2 separate regions of the Homo sapiens genome follow, and region 2 is linked to region 1. Evidence: promoter capture Hi-C in human tissues and cell types (Jung and others, 2019). All regions are on one chromosome and are shown on one strand. Each heading gives the region's core, a stretch centred on a gene start or on the middle of the fragment in contact. The rest is flanking DNA. Distances are from core to core; before and after follow the strand shown. Region 1 holds the start of SPIN1 (spindlin 1). Region 2 has its middle 69 kb from the start of MIR4289.

Region 1 (3,792 bases), core at 628-3,127:
TGACCCCTCAGTTCACAAGTAAGGGAGACACACAATTATCTGAGATACACTTTAAGGACACCAATGACCAACATATGGCATCGCAATGGCTGTTCCAGGGAACATCCATTTTCACTGTTTCCTGGATTTCAGGCATAGAAAGATGACTGAAGACATATAGTGGCCCTTTTGCCTTGACCCAGTTCATAACCATTGTAAAAGTAACCATTTCACTACTCAAAAGATTATAAAGAAACTATTTTTCCTAAGAATCTAGGATCTACTACCTATAATTCTGGCATACACATTCTTTACAACCTTAATATATAATTATCAAATCTGATAACGAACGTTCTGTAAATTACCAGGTACTACAATATTTTGGTGTTTGCCTTTTAACTAAAGCTGAGGGGGGAGAGTGGGGAGGTTGGAAGAAGCCTCATTTCACCTGCCCTTTCCAAAATTTCACTTCAAAAGAGTGTTAAAAAAAACTCAGTATATCCAGGTATAAATCTCCAAGTTTAATTTTCACTGCTTAACAAAAGCGATGTAGAAAGCAATTACTGTACCCTCCATTAATCCTTTCGGATTGCATGGAATTCCTTCCAGAAAATTCCAATAGAAAAAAAGTTAAGACAGGTAATCGCGTTTTGGTACGTGTGTCGTCTCTGGCACAAGTCATGTAGAGTGAAATCCTTTAAGACATTTAAATGTTCCTGGTATTGTTTTGTGATTAACGTGATAAAATTGCCAAACAATCCATATTTACCATGAGTGAAAACACTTCCACCACGTACGGAAAATCTCTCCAAAACACAAAATCTGATTCAAAAATTATAAGTAAAAAGAGAATAAATGTAAAAACAATTCCATAAACAAACTTTGAAATGCGTATACGATGACATTACTGAAGCCATTACTCAAAACGAACCTCTGTAAAATCGAGAACGCACAATCAATGCAATAAAATGCTCGAGAAAGCCAAACCCGAGGCGCTGCGCAGTTCCCGCATCGCACAATTCGTTTCAACACATTCCTTGACGAATACACCCAAGGTCACTCACGATGGAGAGGAAAAGTGCCTGTCTCTCTCCAGAGCACGCAACCCGTTCGCCGCGCCCCCACGGAGGGCGGCGAAGAGACGGCGCATCAGGAAAGGGGCTGCGCGGGCGCGAGGACTGGCCGGTGGGCGTTCCGGCGCCGCGAACCGCGGAGCCTGCAACTTACAAGGTCCGCGGCCATCCCCCGGGCCTGGGAGGGGTGGCCCCAGGGCAGGCCCGCGTCCCCGGGGTGACCCGACCCGTCGCGCCGGGGTCCCGCCCCTCCCCCCGCCCCGCCCCCGTCGCCGGCCCGGGATTATGCAACGTTCCCCCTCCCCGCCTGCATTCTGGCGCAGCGCCCCCTCCCCGCGCCCGACTGCGCAGCGCCGCCGCCCCCTGCCCGCCGGCCTCCCCGCCCGGCTCCAAACAAAGCGCGCGCTAAGGGGCCGGCGGCGGCCGGGGAACTGGGGACGAGAGGGTGGCGGCCATGTTGGCGGGGGGCGGCGGGGATGGGGGCACGGAGGAGTAGGGGCCGGCGAACAAAGGAGCGCGCGCCCGCCCCGAGGCCCAGGCCCGCCCAGCCCGGGTCCCCGCCGCGGCCCAGCCGGCAGGGGGCGCTATGCGGGCGCCGCCCGCTGGACAATGCTCCGCCGGGCCCCGCGCGGGCCGCGCTCACCTGCGCCCCCGGGCAGACCGCCGCACCGCTGGCCCGCCCGCAGCCCGCACTCCCTCACGACCCACGCCCGCCCTGCGCGGGCCTCACCTGCTGACCGCCGAGGCTGCAGTCCACAGGCCCACGGGTTCCGCCGTCGCTCGTTCGCGCTCCCGCCGGCCCCAGCCTGAGCCAGACGGCGCCTCCCCGCCCCCGCTCCCTCGCCGCGGACGCCGCCCGCCCCCCAACAGTCAGGGCGCACGCGCACTGCGCCCGCCGAACTGCGACGGCCGCGCCGCCCCGGCGCCTGGCGCCGACGGCCGACTGCGCAGGCGCAGTGGGGCGGGGCGGGGCCGGCGAGGGCGGGGCCTGGCCCCTCTCACCTGGCTGGCGGCAGGGCGGGGCTCGAGCCCGGGACTGCCAGGTGCGCGCCGGGAATGGGCGGCGGCAGGCGCGCGGGGCACAGGTTCCTGAGGGGGCGCAGCTTTTCCTGGAAGGCAGGCAGCCTGAGAAGGGCTTCGTTTTTGCGCAGTAGGACGTTGAAGAAAGGACAAGCCCCCTTTGTCCTGGACGTAAGCCGCAAGTCGTCCTGAGTGGTGCACACCGCGAAGACTGAGGAAACTGGATCACAGGGCTGGGCCGTGAGCCTTGAACCTCGGAGAACGTCGCATTACTGCTCCAGCGCGCCGGTTCAGGGCCGCGGGACGCGAGCCCTTTAAAAGGATGGATTTGCTTCCTGTGACTCCCTGGAAGAGACGTCTTCACCACCGCACTGCGTAGAGGCCGGCGTCGTCGCCGGCTCACCCCGCTTGCTGCCTCCCCGCACAAAGCCCAGCCCAGGTAGCTCAGGTTAGCTGGAGCCCCGGAGCCTCACCTACAAGTACCTGGCCTGTCCTAGGTTGTGTGGGGACGGGATGTGGCTTCTGCAAGCCCAGAAACCTGTTTCCACTCCCCCACCACAAATGGAACTCACCCAGCTCTACTCGCAAGGTTAGGAGCCAAAAATTCCCATGATCGCACGCGAATTCATTTGACTTCCGTTTCAGTTAAGATGCCTTTTCAGCATTTTGTTGCTTGTTTGCAGAAGGGAGAGAGGTAGGATCAAGAATAGTTTTTACTCCTGCAGAGTCGAGTGCGAGACTTGGAGGCTGAGTCCAGGCGCTCTCCCCTCCCCGCCAGTCCCGTGTCCTGGAGCAGGTCACTGACCTGGTTCCTCGAGTGCGACAGCGCAGCCTCATCGTAATAAACCGCCTCCCAAAGCGTTGTCAGATCAAATTCCAGAACATGTTACTGGAAAGCACCTTGAACACTCTAAACTGCAGCACAGTTATTAGTTAGCAATACTCTTTGGGGTTTCACTGGCACCTTTTCTAACAAATAAGATTGATAGATGCCTGCTCAAACAAATTGAAGTGCTTGTCTCAGATGACACACTTGGCAGGCATGGGACGTTCACAGGCCAACTAGAGAGCTAATTTCAAAACTGAGATATAAAAGTGTATCGCTGTACTTACAAGTTACCAAGTGTTGAGAAATTACTCACTTTCATTTGTGTGTTTAATGTCTTTTTTGTTTTTTTAGACGGAGTCTCACTCTGTTCCCCAGGCTGCAGTGCAGTGGCATGATCTCGGCCCACTGCAACCTCCGCTTCCTGGGTTCAAGCAATCCTCACATTTCAGCCTCCCGAGTAGCTGGGATTACAGGCGCGCACCACCATGTCCAGCTAATTTTTAAAAATATTTTTAGTAGAGACGGGGTTTCGCCATGTTGGCCAGGCCGGTCTCAAACTCCTGGCCTCCAGCAATCCGCTGGCCTCGGCCTCCTGAAGTGCTAGGATTACAGGCGTGAGCCACCGCGCCTGGCCTGTTTAATGTCTTGCAGTGGGGTCATCTCCGAAACAAAGAGGGATGGGAAGAAGGTAGGTGCCAAGAAGTCTGCTGGTTGGAAGATTTCATCTCATTGGCGAGATCCCTGGGTTTCTCCACCTCAGCAGTGTTGGCTTTTGGGATGGGATAATCCTTTCATGTGGGGTCTGTTCCATGCTTTGTAGGATGTTTGACAGCATCCCTGGCCTCCACCCACTAGATGCCAGTAGCACACACACTCCTCCAAAATTCACGG
Region 2 (3,832 bases), core at 683-3,182, 430 kb before region 1:
TGAAAATGTCAGGTTTCTTGAACTAACAGGCTTTGAAATCACGATTCTGTTTTTAAGTAGAGTGTATTGAAAACATTACATGTAAAATCAAAAAATTATTGGAATGACTGACATTAAAGCATTTAAAGTGGTTATTCCTGAATGGGGTAGTTTAGATAGTTTTAACTTTTTATCTATTTGTATTTACTATAAATACAATTTTTCCTTAAATTTCATTATAATAAATAAATAAATATAAATAAATTTCCTTATAATTTTCGTGTGTGAGAAGGAGAGAACAAAATTCTTATTTCAAAGAAAAATAGAGTCAACACTGCATCATCAGCTGGAGAAGAGCTGAGCTACCTTTGGTACTTCTGGTACACCTGGTATCCCTGCTACACCTGGTCCCCTGGCACACCTGGTGCCTTGTACATCTGGTACCCCTGATGTGAATAGTCCCTGGGCACACCTGGTACCCATAGCACACTTGGTCCTGTGGCACACCTGGTCCCTGGATGCACCTGGTACGCATGGCACACTTGGTTCTCTGGCATACCTGGTCCCTGGCACACCTTGTTCCTGGCACACCTGGTCTCCTGGCACAACTGGCACCCTTGGCACGTCTGATCCCTCCGGCACACCTGGTACTCTGGCACACCCTAGTACACCTGATATACCTGAAGCAAAGGAGTTGGCCTGTGACATTGCCCACTCAAAAAGTGAGCTGTTGGAGCACATAGATTACCTGGCCCCAGGGGAATCCCAACTTGAAAAGCCCTGGATCTGGATCCTGTCCATCCTTCTCCTTTCAGACTCAGTTGTTGTCTACACTGTTCCAGAGCAGGGACCATCACAGTGACCGATGCAGAGACCAACACAGCAGGAAATTCCACAGTAGACCACACTCCATGAAGATGGAGTGTCTGCCTCAACCCAACCCAGGGACTGACCACAGGGAGCCGGCAAGAGAGTCAGTCATCAGTCATGATGCACGGCGCTCTACCGAGGAGTCAAAGGCAGGAAATGAGAATAGACTGGAGGTCGGTGAAGCGCTTTGTCAGTGGCCAGGAAAGCAACAACCAGCTCCCACGCAAGGCTCTGGGACAACTTGAGCTCCTGCCTCACTCTCTCCAGGCCTCCCCTACACTACTTGTATTTTGGGACCAGCATGCTCGGAATATCTGGTATGACGAAGATGGGGCAGAGAGAGTGAGAGAAAGAGAGACCCAGGCCTAAATTTCTCCACTCGTTACAGGTGTGGAAAGTGAAGGAGGCTGCCCAGGAGATGTTTCATGAGTTCTGACTTTATGGCACATCACCTGGGAGGCGATAGCAGATGGCCCAGTACTAGTCCCAGCTTTGGAGCAGGCAGATCAGAAATGCCCTTCCCCCGGGATACCTAGGAAGAAGATGGGCCAGGAAGGCTGCAGAGTCCTTTCTCCCCTAAGTGACCTGCTGGAAATGCTCAGCAATTCTTGTTAGAACAACAGATCTCGTGCACATCCATAGAAACATGCATTTGTGCAAACAGAATCCCTTCTGCTTTGGTGCACAACCTTTTGCACAAATTCACGCTTTTGAGCAGACACTCCGCTTCTGGGGCAGGAGTACGTCACTGTATCAGTCTTTCATTTTCTCTTCTGGCATCTGAATACTCTCATTTCTTCTTAATTTTCCACCAGTTTTTCCTCTCGTTTGCTACTGATCTGCCTGGCTCTCCTTTATACCGCATCTGAGCACCCTGCACATGCCTCTTGAAAGTGAATGAGTGCCTTAATTGGAAAATGCTCTCTCATTCACCACAGGGAAGAGAAGAATACTCCAGCTAATAATGTCTTTTCCACAGAGCCCTCGACCAAATGACTCTCTCTGTTTTAATTGAGAGCCAAAGCTTTTGAAAATGAATATGTATCTTCAGGGATGGATAAAGAATGCAGTTTGATCTTATGGAAATGTCACGTTGGGATGTGAAGGTGATGGATTGTTCAAGAATCAACCAAAGAGGACAGCTCTGGCCCAGGCTGCTGAGGGACAACCGAGCTCAGATGATGCCCCCAGAGAGCAGTGGGATAACTGGGGAGGGACCACATGGTGGTTGCCAATGAGTCTCGATAGGTAGAAAAAAGGACTGAAATGAAGGCAGCAGCTAAGGACAAGGTGACAGTCTGTGACTTTGAATGGCATGCTATTTCCAACAAGCATCCCAAAGCAGAAATAAACATGGTTGGAAGGGGAGTGCAGAACATGAAATATCTACTGAGAGCTGAGGGCCACACCAGGGTGGTTAGGAGGGGAAAGAAGAAGAAACTTCAGGAATAAAAGCATTTTAAGTCTCTTAGCAACTGCCTATAGATGGAGACACGCTGGGTGGAGGCTGTCACAGGGCTTCTTGCGGGGTGTCCACCCCTCTGTTGGCCTCCTTGGACACCACTGCCCTGAAAAGGAGGGGAAAGTGCATTTCTCAAGCTGAAGCCCTGGCCAGGGCCTCTAATTTTACTTCCATGAGTGTGCCCTGATTGATTTTGAAAGGGAGGAGGTGGATCATAAAAAAACACAGCCCACAGCCGAGCCATAATCAGCTGCAGCTGCTGCTGGGATAGAGTCCTGACAGGCAAATGGCATCATGATGGAGCATTCCTTGGGACTGGCAACATTCGGCTGCCAGTGTGGGGGCAGGGAGGCAGTCTATTATTAGGAACATGCCTGAGATGTGAGTTTGCAGAATTCATTGCTCTAGATTAAAATCACTTTTGCAGGGAACAAACTCTGGAGATGGTGGAGGTACGTAGACTTCCTCTCAGCTTGAAAGATGTATCAAACTTTAAGAGGGGCTTGGACCACCCATTTGCAAATTGCTTTTTCATGCAGTTAATTTTATTTATTTTTCATCCAAATCTTAAAGCAGACCCCTCCTTTAAAAGTGTATGGCCAGCCGCGCTGGCTCATGCCTGTAATCCCAGCACTTTGAAAGGCCAAGATGGGTGGATCACCTGAAGTCAGGAATTGGAGACCAGCCTGACCAATGTGGTGAAACCCTGTCTCTACTAAAAATACAAAAATTAGCCAGGTGTTGTGGCGGGCACCTGTAATCCCAGCTACTCGGGAAGCTGAGGCAAGAGAATTGCTTGAACCCAGGAGTTGGAGGTTGCACTGAGCCAAGATCATGCCATTGCACTCCATCCTGGGCAACAAGAGTGAAACTCCAGCTCAAAAAAAAAAAAAAAAAAAAGTATATGGCCAATAGATCAACAGAAAGTGCCCTAAAGTAAAGGACTGTTTACATAAATGACTAAGGCACATAGGGACCCTGGAGGCTCTGACCTTGACCTGGGTCTGAGTGGGGAAACCCCACACGCTCATTTCTTAGCGTTTCTGCACGCATGTTTTGCTTATTAAAGAGAATTATAAATCCCATGCTTTCTAAATCTTTTGATGGAAAGCAATTTTCTTCCCAGAGATGAAAAGATGTTAACATGAAGGCGCTGCTTGGAAAACAGGGCACAGGACTGGCTGCATTTCAAACGAGGTGCCGGAGCTTATGCAACATTTACAACGGAATTCATTAAAAATTGGTTTTGCTCTCTGAGGACCTGTTGGAGCATCTAGGCCTCATGTGGGGGAGGCTGGGAGACTCTGTGAAAAGGATTATTTGGAGGGTGTATCGAAGCCCCCTGTAGGTGTGGAAGGTGTTTTCCCTTTTAGCTCAAGTCAAGAGCTCATCCTGCCCGCTTCCGTGTGAGGAACTGCTTCCTGTGGCTGTTAAGATCATGGGGAATGGGAGACCCACTGTGCTGGGAGTGATGCCCTGTCAGAGCCGGCTGCAGCTCAGGGTGCAGGAGGCCTGATGGGA

What was found. Contacts are between HindIII fragments. The study calls those that stand out against the background at their distance.
Region 2: a fragment that was not itself captured here is called in contact with the fragment with the promoter of SPIN1 in region 1 in 1 of the 25 tissues and cell types used here (dorsolateral prefrontal cortex).

Annotation. Positions count from the first base shown.
Region 1 is chr9:88,386,529-88,390,320 of GRCh38, reverse strand. It overlaps SPIN1 (spindlin 1), which reads right to left and starts at 1,877. Exons shown (of 6, transcript NM_006717.3): 1 at 1,783-1,877. It overlaps LOC124902204 (a long non-coding RNA gene), which reads left to right and starts at 1,122. Exons shown (of 2, transcript XR_007061652.1): 1 at 1,122-1,209; 2 at 2,204-3,792. RefSeq lists a silencer at 1,225-2,124 and an enhancer at 2,202-3,061. The HindIII fragment of the contact is 12,466 bases long and covers 1-3,792 here.
Region 2 is chr9:88,813,467-88,817,298 of GRCh38, reverse strand. No RefSeq gene overlaps it. Among named protein-coding and RNA genes, the nearest start is that of MIR4289, 69 kb to the right of the region's middle. The HindIII fragment of the contact is 5,052 bases long and covers 1-3,832 here.